Regions from separate parts of the Homo sapiens genome. Here all the other regions are linked to region 1. The links are contacts of gene promoters, found by promoter capture Hi-C in blood cells and fetal thymus (Javierre and others, 2016). All regions are on one chromosome and are shown on one strand. Each heading gives the region's core, a stretch centred on a gene start or on the middle of the fragment in contact. The rest is flanking DNA. Distances are from core to core; before and after follow the strand shown.

Region 1 (2,651 bases), core at 66-2,565:
ACACTTAAGAGAGGCACTATAAATACAGATGGACTGACTGACCAACTGGGGTTAATGTGTAGGTAATAATAGGAGAATCTGTTCCAGCTCCAAGAGTTGGGGGATAGTGCCTCCACTTTACTGACCTCGGGATAAGTCTGTCCCTGCTGCTGGATATTCCCTCATTTGTTCGCAGACATTTATTGCGGGCCTTCTTTATACCTGCCCTATGCGGTGTATTACTGATACAACATGAACAATATGGAAAAAATGCTTTTCCTAAAGGACTTAAAACCCTGTGGGAGCGACAACAAGGAAACAGACAATTATAAGACAATATGATAAATGCTATAGGTCCACAGCAGAATCACCTAACCTATGACGTGGGTGGGATTAAGGAAGGCATTCCCTGATATGGGGATTACCAGGCACTCTCAGCTCAGGTGGAAACCGTTATGGTAAGGTCCGCTCTCAGAGGTGGTAGGGCCCAGAAATGACATCATCCTAAGTGTAAGTATGCAGACAGCACACAGAGGGGCTTGGTAACTGAAGCTGGGCCCAGAGGATGGGGTCCTGACCGATTGGGAAGCTGTCAAAGCCATCATTCCCAGCTCATAACCTGGGACCCATGACTACCCAGAAAGGCATAACCAGGATGAAGAAACACAGGTCTCTCCAGCTTACTGGAGAGACTGACTGGGGAAGCTCCTCACAGCTGAGGCCAGAAACCTTTTAAACAGAAGTTTCCTCTGAGTGGACCTGAACAAGCCAGTTCCCTCTTCCTTAGGACGGCCCTTCACAAATCTAAGCATTTTCCTCTTAGCTTAATCCCTCCTTGTCTCAGGTCTCCCCCAGGCCCACATCCGAAAGTAGATGACAATAATTACTTGTTGAATGAACGAATCATGAGGAGTCATGTAAATAGAATTCTGTCACGTTGTGAGCCCACATTCACCTTACGGGTATATTGGAGGGCGGGAAAACGGAGATGGGGGGCTCCACTAATGTGTGTCTGTGATCCTGGTTAGATCGCTGTAGGCCATAGAAAGTTTCATTTTAAAAAAATTCCTTTCACAGATCAGAAGTGATGTCCCCGTCCCCGTCTTCTCTTCTGAGTTTGTGCAACGTCAAAACTACAAGTCCCATAAGGCCGGCGGCCGGGAGTCACCATCTTGACATACCTTAGCGCGCATGTCGGCGGGAGAGCGAGCGTTTGGGGAGAAGAAGCCCCGCCTGACTGCAGCCCATTGGTCAAAGGGGTCGGCAGCGGGCTCAGCGGTTGGCCACAGCGCCCGCCCGTCCGCCGCGTCGGTCGGGGTCAGAGTGCGCGGAGGTGAGTCGGTGTGTTGTGGACTCGTGGTGCTGGCTGCCGCTGTTCAGGCGGCCGGGAACGGGCGGTGGGGAGCGGGCGGAGCTGGCCCTGCCTCTGCCTGGCCGGCGCCGCAGTCGGCGCGGGCCGCGCCCGCCGCCGCCAACTGCCCTGAGCGCTTGCTGAGGCCGAGGGAGACGTCGGGGCCTGCACCTGGAGGGAGCCTGCCGCGCTGGCCCCGAGGAGGGGGCGTTGCCATGGCGACAGCCTCTCCCGCTGCTGACGGGGGGCGGGGGCGGCCCTGGGAAGGAGGGCTGGTCTCCTGGCCCCCCGCCCCTCCCCTTACTCTCCCCTGGACTTGGATGGGCCCGAGTTGGGGGCAACACCCCGGGGTGGGTGATGCTGAATGGCCCCGCCAAGATTGGGCCCTGGTTAATGCATGCGGGGTGAGGGTCGCGGTGCGCAGAATTTATGCAACCTGGGGTGCTGGCCCATGTGCTTACCCTGGATGCTTACTTAATCTACTGAGTAATGTTCTGGCGGAGGGGGAGCGGGGCAGAGCTTTGCAAGACAGGATGGGTGAGTTTATTAAGGGGGTTGACTTACTGGGATTACTAGAGAAGAAAAAGGTTTGACTAGAGAGGCTAGAAATGGAGCATGGAGATTGTGGGTAGAACATTCCCTTGACCCTCTCGCCAACACATGCCCACACACCAGGTTAGCAGTTTACCTCTTTGTAAATCTGAAGCGGTGGTAGTAGTGATGGTGGAAGGAGTGAATAAGGGCCTAACCTGGCTAGCTTTCTGTTTGCCTGTCTTGCAAATGGTCCAGCAACAGGTGTTTTCTTAAAAAAAGCATGAACTTGGATTGAGGCTTGACTGCGAGTTCTTGCAAAATATAACTGCTCCTTGTTGACTTGGAAGATGCTGGATGTGGGGCCCCTCAATGGGGGTTTGGATTTTGTCCTTAGAGCTGGATTTTGCAACAAATAGTGCCCATCGTTGTGTCTGCGAGAGGTCTCTGGCCACTTCAATGGCATTTACTCTTGTCAGACATTTAATCAGTCTCCCAGCGGAAGGGCAGCAAAACATGAATCCTATTGGCTAAAAGAGTGTACGCTATTCAAACTATAGTAGGTTGTGAGTGGCTAAATGAGTTTTGATTGTAGAGTTTCTTCCAGAAATTGGCTTCATCAAATTCTGCTTTATTCTGACTTTATCATATACAGCATGCCTTGTTTTAGTGGGTTCTTGCTTGGAGCTTAGTTTATTATACCTGAATCTCCTACCATTTAAAAGCCAATTTATAAACAGGGACTTGGAGTGTGACTCCACTAATGTGTGTCTGTGATCCTGGTTAGAAA
Region 2 (2,651 bases), core at 90-2,589, 250 kb before region 1:
TCAGCCCTTGCACTGATAACGAGGAAATGGGACTGACAACAATTTTTAGCTGAGAGATTCTTCACCAAAATGCCAGGCGGCCAGAGGTCTGACAGCGCCTGATTGAGTGTGTGAGTGCGTGGGGGGAACGCCCGCAGCCCCCTCCCCTCCCATGCAAAGATGGATCGCTCATTCCGCCTCCCGTCCACATTCATTACCTCACCTCCCTCCCCACCGCCCCAGTCGCGGAGTGCCTGCCACCTCCACTTCTCTGCTTGCCACAGGTATCCCTGCAAGCAGGAGGAGGGCAGGGAGGGGAGGGGCTCTGACCCCATCCTCAGCCTTACACAGGGCAACTCCAGCTCCAAGAGCAGGGAGGCGACTCTGCAGAGGCAGGGACCGGGAGTCAGGGGAATCAGGTCCCAGCCTGGAGGCTCCCTAAGTTGTATGACCTCCAGAGAGTCCCTTTTCCTTGCTGAGCTGCTAGAATACCTTTCCTGCTGGACAACAGTGAGGCTCCAACAGGGAGTGACTGATGGTAAGCTGCGAAGGACAGGCCTGTCGAGGAGGAGAGAAGAGGTCATGCCAAGGCAGCCCTCTTCCTAGCTTGGGCCAGGCTCCAGCCAGCCCAGCCCTCTCGCCTCGAAACAAGGCCTCAGGTACCCGGGGTCCTAGATCAGCCCTCTGCTGCCCCCCTCTGTTGGGAATGGTTGACCATTGGGAACAGGCAACTCAAGTGCCGGCACAACCTGCCCCTTCCCTGCCATCTTCCACAGCGAAGCCTGGTGCAGAATTGGACATATAGAGGTCGGGCGTCTTGTTCAAAGGGAAAGCCCTCCCCTCCTTGACCACTCACCCACGTCTGGCCTTGCAGCTCCCCACCGTGTGATTGCCTCTCTGGCTTGGCATGTTTGGTTTTGTCCCAGTTCTTTTGCATGAGAGTTCCATTCTCGCCTCTGCTTGTCCAAGCAACAAATTCCATCTCTATTTTTTCTCTACAGACCACAAAAGGCATGGCTTGATCGACTGGTGTCTGACAGGGATGAGGAGGGTTGAAATGAGGGTGAGGGTGACTGTAATGACAGATGGCCATGGAGGCTGGGACTTTTAAGAGTATGTGTGTGGGTATATGTGTGTGTTCATGTGTACACACGTGTGTCCTACCCCAACCCCTGCAATGGAAAGACTTCCATTTCCTAGTGACCAAGAAACAGGAACTTCAAGCAGAATTCAACAGAGCTGCCTCTTGCTAGCTGTGTGACCTTGGGCAAATCACTTAACGTTATTGAGCTTCATTTCTCCTTGTGTGAAATGGGGATAATGATATCTAACTCCCAAGACTTCTGTGAAGATCCAGTGAAATCAGGGCTGTGTACAAGTGAGGAGTCATTAGTGCCTCCAGTAACACACTAGCAAAGTTTGTTGTTTGTGCCTATATCTGCCCCATCCTGACACCTGCCCTGCCTTGCCTATATCTGGCCTTCTTCCCTTCTATGATCCAGATCTTTTACCACTCAGTAGGTGCCCTGGCCCTAGCTCCTCTGGCCCCCATGGAGTTCCTTCTTCCTATCCATCATTACCCATATATCTGGTTATTGGTTTATATGTCGGTTTATCCATCTGTCCATCTACCTATCATCTATCCATTATCTGTCCATTTGTAATAACAACAACTGTCTATCAAGTATCATTATATATTTGGCTGTAGGTCAATACTACACATACTTTATCTCATTAATCCTTACAGCAGTTCTGTGAGGTAGGTGTTACTGTCTCTATCACACTGATGAGGAAAATGGGGCTCAGAACAATGTGGTGACAGCTACAAAGTTCAGAGCAGGGATTTAAATCCAGTTCTGTCTGAATCCAGACCTGAACAATACCCAACTACCTACCTACCTACCCACTCACCTAGCTAATGATTCAATATGACTCCACAGATGTTTACTGGATGCCCATTAGGGGTCGCTATAGCACAGATGCCAGACAATAATGAAGACAGGCGCACTCTCTGCCCTCAGGGAGCTTAGGACCTAACAATGGATAGAAACATGAAACGATTGTCCCCAGAGTGGTCTTAGGAAAAGAAAAGTACATGGGGCCGGTGTGGTGGCTCAAACCTGTAATCCTAGCACTTCGAGAGGCCGAGGTGGGAGGACTGCTTAAGGCCAGGAGTTTGAGACCAGCCTGGGCAACACAGTTAGACCCTATCTCTACAAAAAAATTAAAAAATTAGCCAGCTGTGGTGGCATGTGCCTGTAGTCCCAGCGACTTGGGAGGCTGAGGCAGGAGGATCGCTTGAGCCCAGGAGTTTGAGGCTGCAGTGAGCTATGATCGCACCACTGCACTCCAGCCTGGCCTACAGAGTGAGACCCTGTCTTAAAAAAAAAAAAAAAAGTACACAGAACTAGGGGAGTATATCATCTGGTCTGGAAGGTGAAGGAAGTGACATTCAGCGAAGGCTGAAGGATGCGTGGGAACCAGTCAAACAGTGATTGGGGGAAGTGGTGCTCTAGATAGAAAACAGCACATTTGGCCGGGCGTGGTGGCTTATGCCTGTAATCCCAGCACTTTGGGAGGCCGAGGCGGGCGGATCACGAGGTCAGGAGATCGAGACCATCCTGGCTAACACAGTGAAACCCCGTCTCTACTAAAAATACAAAAAAAATTAG
Region 3 (2,651 bases), core at 112-2,611, 230 kb before region 1:
CACTAGAAACTGATGGCAGGAAGAAGTCCACCCCAGCCTCGGTAGTCATGACCTGAACCCCAGGTAGGGTTGGGGTTTGGTCACCTGCCACCCTCCTCACACCTGTGCTGGGGCCCTGCTCATAGCCAGCCCTAAGCTCCAGCCACCTCTGCCCCCTGGCCCAGCAGTCGGCCCAGCTGGCTCACCTTCTCAATCAATACTGTGCTCTTAATGGGCCCAGCTACCAGCACCAACCAGGGGCATTAAATGTTAATTATATCTATTTGGATTTGAAAAATTTTATTACTCGAGTTAATTATGGTTGGAGTCATAAAAAGGTTTCAGAGTGAAAGGACTGCCTTATTGGGGCCACTTTCCCCAAGACAGATTGGAAAGGCAAAGAAGAAATAAAATCATCTGGCTTAGAGGGCGGCTACTCCACATCCACCAGGCTGAGCGTGCTGGGCTAAGGACTCTGAAGCCTCCAAGGGAAAGGCCTGAAGAGCAGCTCGCCTACTGGCCGTGCTGGTGCCCGGGATGCAGGACAGGCCTGTCTTGGCAGGGCAGGTCTGCCGCTTGGCAGCCCCAGCAGGAGAGATGCGGTCAAGTAGAGAAGGGCTCCCTGCCAGCGAGCCTCCATGGGAGCTGCCGTCCTGCTGAGAACAGCCCGGCTCCCAGAGATCAGGATTGCAGGATATGCCCAGGGCTCCTCTTCAAGTGGTCCAAATACTGGGACCTTCTCTTGCCCAGCTCTACCCAGCCCTGCCTGATTGCTTCCTGCCAGCGCCGCTTATGATTCATGGGCCTGACCTTGGGCTATAAGGTGTTCACTCTAGCGGGTACAGAGGCAGGATTTATGGCCTCGGGGTCAGCTGTAGGCAATGACACAGGCAATAGCTGACTCACAAGGGTGCCCCATCCCCAGCCCACACATAACTCTCCCTTGCACACACAGGTACACACACACATCTGGACATAGCCGCAAATGCACATTCATGCCAGGAGCTATCTCACGCACGCATCTGGTAATGGGAGTTCATTTGTGGAGCAAGCACTGTGTCTAAGGTGCTTTACAAGCATTTGTCTAATCCTTAACACTGCCCCTGTAAGGCCGGTCCAAGCCAGAGCTACTCATTTTACAGAAGAGGAAACAAAGGCTCAAGCAGGTTAAGTTATCGGAACACATGTGCCCTAGAAGAGAACCAGCCCTACAGAGAACCCTGATGCCTGTCTGTTGGCCAGGGAAACTAATACCACCAGAGAGCTAGACTACAGCAGCCTGCGGGGCAAGAGAGACCATTCCACCCCCTCCCTCTTCCCTGTCAAAGGAGCCGAGGCCAGCACAGAGGGGGCGGGAATGTTCCCCATCTCTTTCCACCCCCTCCTTGCCACAAGGTGATGAAGAGAAGGGGAAAAATGCCTTAAAGAAGATACAACAGTGGCCGGGCGTGGTGGCTCATGCCTGTAATCCCAGCAATTTGGGAGGCTGAGGTGGGCAGATCACCTGAGGTCAGGAGTTTGAGACCAGCCTGGCCAACATGGTGAAACCTGTCTTCACTAAAAATATAAAAATTAGCCAGGCGTGGTGGCGGGTGCCTGTAATCCCAGCTAGTAGGGAGGCTGAGGCAGGAGAATGACTTGAACCTGGGAGGCAGAGGTTGCCGTGAGCCGAGATTGTGCCACTGCACTCTAGCTTGGGTGACAGAACAAGACTCCGTCTCAAAAAAAAAAAAAAAAAAAAGGAAGAAGAAGAGAAGAAGATACAATAGTGGAATTTCAAACTGCACCAACTTTAAAAAAAACAGAAGGAACTGGGAATTAGGGGGAATTTGCCCATGTTGTTAAGGGATCAACTGCCCATCCAAGGGCAGTTGAGGTGTCTCCGGTAGAGACTGGAGGGGGACAATATTTCATATATAAACTTTTAATTATCATTGTTATGATGCGGTTACTGAGAACCCCATGTAAAAGGAGTTAGCCACTTCTCTCTTCAGCTTAATATCCATTGCCTCCACTTGATTTTCCATCTTCCCTCAATTTTCAGAACTTTTGTCTTTTCTCCAAAACCAGTGCCTACTGTCCCTTAGAGCCACTTCTCTCCATCCTCAGCAGGGACCTTGCCCTTGCGATATTCCTCTCGCTCTTGCATTTTTGCCACGAGAGCGGTCCTTTCTCCTCTGTCTTCTACGTTGTGTGTAACTGTCTCCTAAAAGGGCCAACCCTTCCCTGGACCTTGCCGCTTCCTCTATCTCCTTCCTTTCTTCTGTCTTCTAGTCTGCCTCCTGGAACAAGGACCTGTGCCTGTCGCCTCATTTCCTTCCCCACCGTCTGGGATGGAGCTCTTATCGCTGTCCTGGTGTCATCCGCAGCAGCTCCCTGGGTCCCTGGAGCTGTGACCCCCTCCTCAGGCATCTGGGGCTCTTCCTCAGCGCTCCTGTCCTCCTTTCCACACCACCCTCTATCCTTACCTTGTCCCTCATGCCTCTTCCACTGACCTGATCCGGGGACCTTGTCACTGCTGTGCCCTTTGCTCTTAGAGAATTTATCTTTTTACCCTCTTGAACGTCAACTTTCCAGGACTCCCAAACCTGCCTCCAATTTGATGTCTCTCCTGAATGCCCACACCGAATTGTCAACTGCCCAAAGGACATGTCCATTTGGACTCTCCATTG
Region 4 (2,651 bases), core at 40-2,539, 220 kb before region 1:
GATGGCAATGTGGCCTGGACTAGGCTAGGAGCCTTGGAAATGGAGGGAAGTGGACTGATCTGAGAGCTATTTAAGGGTAGGATGAACGGAATTTAGGGATTGATTAGATGGAGGTCTGAGAAAGGAAGAGGGGTAATAATCTCAGGTTTCTGGATGGGCATTTAAGATTGTGGTGCCATTTAATGAAATGGGAGCTAAAGAAGGGAGAAAAATGGTATGTTCCATTTTGGACATATGTGTGTTAGACATACGACACATGGGGAGATGTCCTGTAGGTGGCTGGAAAGTGAGTTGGAAGCTCAGGAGATTGATTTGGATTGAAGTTAAGATTTAGAAGCTGCTGGCATATGGTGTAGCATTTACATGGAAGATCATGAGATCACCCTGATAGAACATGTGCAGACAAAAGCAGAGCAAACATTCATTCATTTATTCAAGAAATTTATTAAGCACCTACCATGTTCCAGGAGCTAGAAATCTAACAGTGAATGTAGAACTTACTTTCTACTGCTGGAGTAGGCAACCAACAAATAAAGACACAGTGGCATGTCAGGTAGGCACACGCAAAATGAAGGAAAATGAGCAGGGTAAGGAGATGCTGAGAGTGACAGCAGGTGGCCAGGAAAGGCCTCTCTGAAGAAGTGACATTTGAGCAGATATCTGAGTGAAATGAAGAAGAGAGTCATGAGGATCTGCGAAGGAGGAGTGTTTCAGGTAGAGGAAATAAGTTCAAAGGCTCTGATGGGGAAGGTACTCAGTGTATTCAAGGAACGATGGGGATAATGTGGCCGTGGTAGAGAGAGCAGATGGAAGAGGGGCCAGACTGTAGGGTCTTGTAGGTTGGGAAGAGGACACTGGATTTTATTCTGTGTGATAGGAAGGTCTGGAAAAGTTAGGAGCAGAGCAGTAATATAATCTGATTTATCTTTTTTTTTTTTCTTCAGATGGAGTCTCTCTCTGTCACCCAGGTGGTAATGCAGTGGTGTGATCTTGGTGCACTGCAACCTCTGCCTCCTGGGTTCAAGCGATTCTCCTGCCTCAGCCTCCTGAGTAGCTAGGATTACACGTGCGCACCACCATGCCCAGCTAATTTTTGTATTTTTAGTAGAGACAGGGTTTTACCATGTTGACCAGGCTGGTCTCGAACTCCTGGCCTCAAATGACCTACCCGCCTTGACCTTCCAAAGTGCTGGGATTACAGGTGTGAGACACCACACTCGGCCTGATTTATCTTTTAAAGGCTTATTTTGGCTGCTGTGCAAAGAATAGATCGTGGGAGGGCCGGAAAGGAAGCAGGAAGATTGCAATAGCACAAGTGTGAGATGACAGTGACCTGCATCGCGACATGAGCGTGAAGGAGGGAGAAGTCTGGATGCCTTCCCATTCCTGATACATTGGATCAATAAAGTAAAAAGAGGTGCCAAGACTCAGAGGTGAAATAGAAAGGAGGAGACTTCGGCTTTAGCCTGTTCTGATCTAACCACATAGTCTCGGGGACATTATCCGACCCCTCTGTACTTTACTTTCCTTAGTCCAACATAAGTCCTTAACACATGGCGTGCCTCCTGTGTGGTGGACATTCAGCGCCAAATGGAACGGACAAACAGCTACATTCTAGTAGGGAAGAAGACAAGCAATTTTCAGAAGAAATGTTACCAAAGATCCCCCAGAATACTGTCATAGAAAAGTGGACAAGGGAAAGGGACAGCGCTGGATGGGGTTTGTAAGAAAAGCCCCAGTAAAGGCGTCATGGAAGGTGAGTCAGGAACAGGACCTCCACCCTCACTAGATCTGCCTCTCAGCTTTGCTGCTGTTCACTGAGATGAGGGATGGAAAAGCACAGGCACTACAGCAGTGACAAAGGACTGGACTGTCTGAACTTCGCTCAGCTCTCCTCCCCATTACCCAAAATATATACCCATCGCTTCCATTCGGACCTGAAAAACAGCAACTCCTTCCTTTGTGCTGCAAAGGCCTTTAGGGGCAGCGCCTTCTCTGGCACCTGTCTCTAGGGGCCTTCATAGGATGGTCCCAAGGGTGCCCGATCTTCTAGGAGCTCACAGCACCTAGAACCACTGCCAAGTGTAATACCAAACACCATCATAGGCCTGCTACCCCTTTCAGACTATGAACTCCTGCTGGGGCCCAGGACGATGCGGGTAGAGGGCGTCTAAACAAATGACTATTGAAGGAGTGGTCTAGAAAGAAATGCCCCTTTTGTCTCCTTTTCTCAGCTCCCCATGGCCTTCCTTCTCCCTTCCTCCTTGTTCCCCCTCAGCAGCCCCACACCCCTTCCCACCAGACCCTGGCTTCTCAGCAGGTAGTGTAGAGATCCTGGCTCTGCCAGGGTGGGGTCTGAGCTGGTGCCTAAGTCAGCAGGCTTTGCCCACAGCCCCATCCTGACAGGCGGTGCCTCTGGCAGCAAAGTCATGGCCCTGATTCCTCTGTCTCCACATTTAAGAACATCTCTAACTGCTCCTTGGATAGCTCAATTAGTAAAGTGAATATATTATATAAAGTCTAAAAGATTAAACTATCATCGTCAGCCCATAATTTCATGAAGAAGTCAGGGGACCGTATCCCTCTTATTAACTCTATAACAAATGTGATGAAAATGTTCAAATAGAATGTTAATGCAATGTTACGTGTAA
Region 5 (2,651 bases), core at 82-2,581, 200 kb before region 1:
TGTGGGCAGGGAGACTAGTAAGGAAGCTATTGCAAAAATCTAAGAGGAGGGACAAAGACAGGTCTGAACTAGAACAACCAAGCAGTGGAGATAAAAAGGAAGAGACCAAAAAACGAGTGAAAAGGTGGGTGGTGAAGGTGAGCTGGGAGGGCCGTTGCCTTCTACCTGCTTGCTATGAAATTCCAGCTGGAACTCAGACTGGCTCCCCACCTGGCTGCATGCAAGGAACTGCTCTGATGCAGGGCACTGGGTTCCCAAGCCCCACAGGTTTGCTTCAGATGATTTCTAGGGAAAGGGTAGATCTTCCTGACCCTCCATTCTCTTCTCAGCTGATTCCAAGTCCCAGATCAATGGGATCCCCTTCAGCCCAACTGTTTCCTGTCCTTGGGTCTGACATTGGAGCTTTTTTCTCCAGGACAGAGAGCTTTATTGAGTATGAATACATCAGAGAGCACAATCTTGAAATTCCTGCCAGGATTCCTATTCTGTCTCAGCTTGGGATCCAGTTCTAGGCTAGGGGAGTAAGACAGCAAAGGAGTAAGGGTAGGCGAGAAGGACATGTCCTAAGCAGTGGCAAGCATTCCTCAATTTTTTTGCCCAAGTCCCTCCTCAATGCCTACCAGGCTGCCAGCTCCCAAATTCTGGGCTTTGCCTCTTTAATGGCTCTTGCTCTCTGTCCTGGGTGAAGCCTGAGTGGATAAGAAGACCCAGCCCTCCTCATCTCCATCCTTCCTCCATTCCTGGGGGCAGGGGCCAGAGAGATATCTGTTCGCTTCTGCAGATACACACATCACCCTTCTCCATTCTGTTCTGTGCCCTGAAAGCTGATTTCTGTCTTCTGCCCCAACAACCAAGCTTGCTTGCCTTCAGGATTCCTATGGGGTTTGACACATGGAGGACATTAGAGAACGAGAGGAGAGAAGCAGTTGGGGTGAGTATTGCCCTGGCTCCTTCTCTGCCAGCCAAGGGTTAGCATTCCTTTCCTGAAAGTCACAGCTCCTCCTGCAGCCGTGGTCATAGCCGCAGTTCTTCCTGGGTGCTGGTATATGCTCCTTCAATCCCAGGGGTAGTAACAGCTCCCCTGTCGTTGCTAGCTCTGAAGTACTTCACCTTCTCTTTATAAATCGTCCTTTCCTTAAACTTTCCTTTGTTACCCCATTCGTGGGCCTCTGTTTCTTGCTAGAACACTGACTAGTATAGCAGGCATTCTCAGAGATGGGACACTAACTGGACCATATATTTATTCCAGAAAGTTTTCATCAGTCTTATCCTACTTTGTCTACCATGAGTCTTTCAATACTAAGTGCCTCCTCCTGTTGATGGGCAGAGTGTAGAGAAACCAAACAGCAATTGAATCCCACGCCCTTGGCCTAGGCAGCTTCTCATAGCCACTAGGGGTTCATTTCTACAGGTTTGCAGAGAGTACAACAATGAAAAAGAAGTCATCTCGTTTTTAGTGAGAGAGAAACTGAGACTCAGAGAATGTCAGGACTGGGTAGCTGGATGCCATGAAGCATTCATTCATTCATTCATTCATTCATTCATTCATTCATTCTTATACTCAGCAAATATTTGTAGGGCACTTATCATGTTCAAGATACTATGCTAGTCACCATGGATACCACAAGCAATAAACAAAATATAATCCTGATGTCACTAAGAACACAATTTTGTTGGAGAGACCGACAAGCAGGGAGGCAATTACAAGAAGATAACCTTATTAGAAGAGTGGGTATGAGGAGTGCTGTGGAAATACACAAAAGTGGCACCTATCCTACTCTTGTGGGGTGGACAGAAGAAAGCTTCCCAGAGGAAATGAGTCTAAGCTAAGATCTGAAGGAAATCTTGGAGTTGACAGGGGGAGGAAGAGATAGGGAGAAGAAGAAGGGAACAGTATGTGCAAAGAGAGGAGCTGGAACACAGTGCCTTGGGAAAAGGAAAGTAACTCAGCACGGCTGGAATTTGTAGCTCAAGGCGGGGCGTGGTGAGAGATTAGGCTGGAAAAGTGGTAGAGATCAGATGACATGTGGTCTTCTAGGCTGCATTAAGAAGTTTAGAGGCCGGGCGCAGTGGCTCACGCCTGTAATCCCAGCACTTTGGGAGGCCAAGGCGGGCGGATCACGAGGTCAAGAGATCGAGGCCATCCTGGCTAACAAGGTGAAACCCCGTCTCCACTAAATATACAAAAATTAGCCGGGCGTGGTGGCGGGTGCCCGTAGTCCCAGCTACTCGGGAGGCTGAGGCAGGAGAATGGCGTGAACCCGGGAGGCGGAGCTTGCAGGGAGCCGAGATTGCGCAACTGCACTCCAGCCTGGGTGACAGAGCAAGACTCTGTCTCAAAAAAAAAAAAAAAAAAAAAAGAAGAAGTTTAGAATAGCAGGGAGCCATTGATGGGTTTTTGTTGTTGTTGTTGTTTGTCTGTTTGTTTTTTGAGACAAGGTCTTGCTCTGTTGCCCAGGCTGGAGCGCAGTGGCACAATCATGGCTCACTGCAGACTTGACCTCCGAGGCTCCTACCTCAGCCTGCCAAGTATCTGGGACTTGTATGTGCTGCCACATCTGGCTAGCTTTTTCTATTTTTTTTGTAGAGGTGGGGTCTCACTCCTGTTGCCCAGGCTGGTCTTGAACTCCTAGGCTCAAGCAATCCTCCCA

The links. The method cuts DNA at HindIII sites, captures the fragments that hold promoters and counts their contacts. A CHiCAGO score of 5 or more calls a contact.
Region 2: a contact is called between a fragment that was not itself captured here and the fragment with the promoter of ERI3 in region 1, in 6 of 17 cell types (megakaryocytes, monocytes, neutrophils and 3 more). The highest score is 9.7, in megakaryocytes.
Region 3: a fragment that was not itself captured here is called in contact with the fragment with the promoter of ERI3 in region 1 in 5 of 17 cell types (neutrophils, M0 macrophages, megakaryocytes and 2 more); the score reaches 7.3 in neutrophils.
Region 4: a contact is called between a fragment that was not itself captured here and the fragment with the promoter of ERI3 in region 1, in 8 of 17 cell types (megakaryocytes, erythroblasts, monocytes and 5 more). The highest score is 8.1, in megakaryocytes.
Region 5: a fragment that was not itself captured here is called in contact with the fragment with the promoter of ERI3 in region 1 in 3 of 17 cell types (endothelial precursors, M1 macrophages and megakaryocytes); the score reaches 5.4 in endothelial precursors.

What each region holds. Positions count from the first base shown.
Region 1 is chr1:44,353,921-44,356,571 of GRCh38, reverse strand. It overlaps ERI3 (ERI1 exoribonuclease family member 3), which reads left to right and starts at 1,315. Exons shown (of 9, transcript NM_024066.3): 1 at 1,315-1,680. The coding sequence starts at 1,546. RefSeq lists enhancers at 1,031-1,080, 981-1,481 and a silencer at 1,351-1,580. The HindIII fragment of the contact is 14,792 bases long and covers 1-2,651 here.
Region 2 is chr1:44,607,651-44,610,301 of GRCh38, reverse strand. All of the region lies in intron 2 of RNF220 (ring finger protein 220), which reads right to left. Among named protein-coding and RNA genes, the nearest start is that of SNORD145, 62 kb to the left of the region's middle. RefSeq lists enhancers at 1-215, 216-777. The HindIII fragment of the contact is 3,975 bases long and covers 1-2,651 here.
Region 3 is chr1:44,586,215-44,588,865 of GRCh38, reverse strand. The region is part of intron 2 of RNF220 (ring finger protein 220); the gene reads right to left. Among named protein-coding and RNA genes, the nearest start is that of MIR5584, 42 kb to the right of the region's middle. The HindIII fragment of the contact is 5,716 bases long and covers 1-2,651 here.
Region 4 is chr1:44,569,364-44,572,014 of GRCh38, reverse strand. All of the region lies in intron 2 of RNF220 (ring finger protein 220), which reads right to left. Among named protein-coding and RNA genes, the nearest start is that of MIR5584, 25 kb to the right of the region's middle. The HindIII fragment of the contact is 7,268 bases long and covers 1-2,651 here.
Region 5 is chr1:44,552,276-44,554,926 of GRCh38, reverse strand. The region is part of intron 2 of RNF220 (ring finger protein 220); the gene reads right to left. Among named protein-coding and RNA genes, the nearest start is that of MIR5584, 8.1 kb to the right of the region's middle. The HindIII fragment of the contact is 947 bases long and covers 858-1,804 here.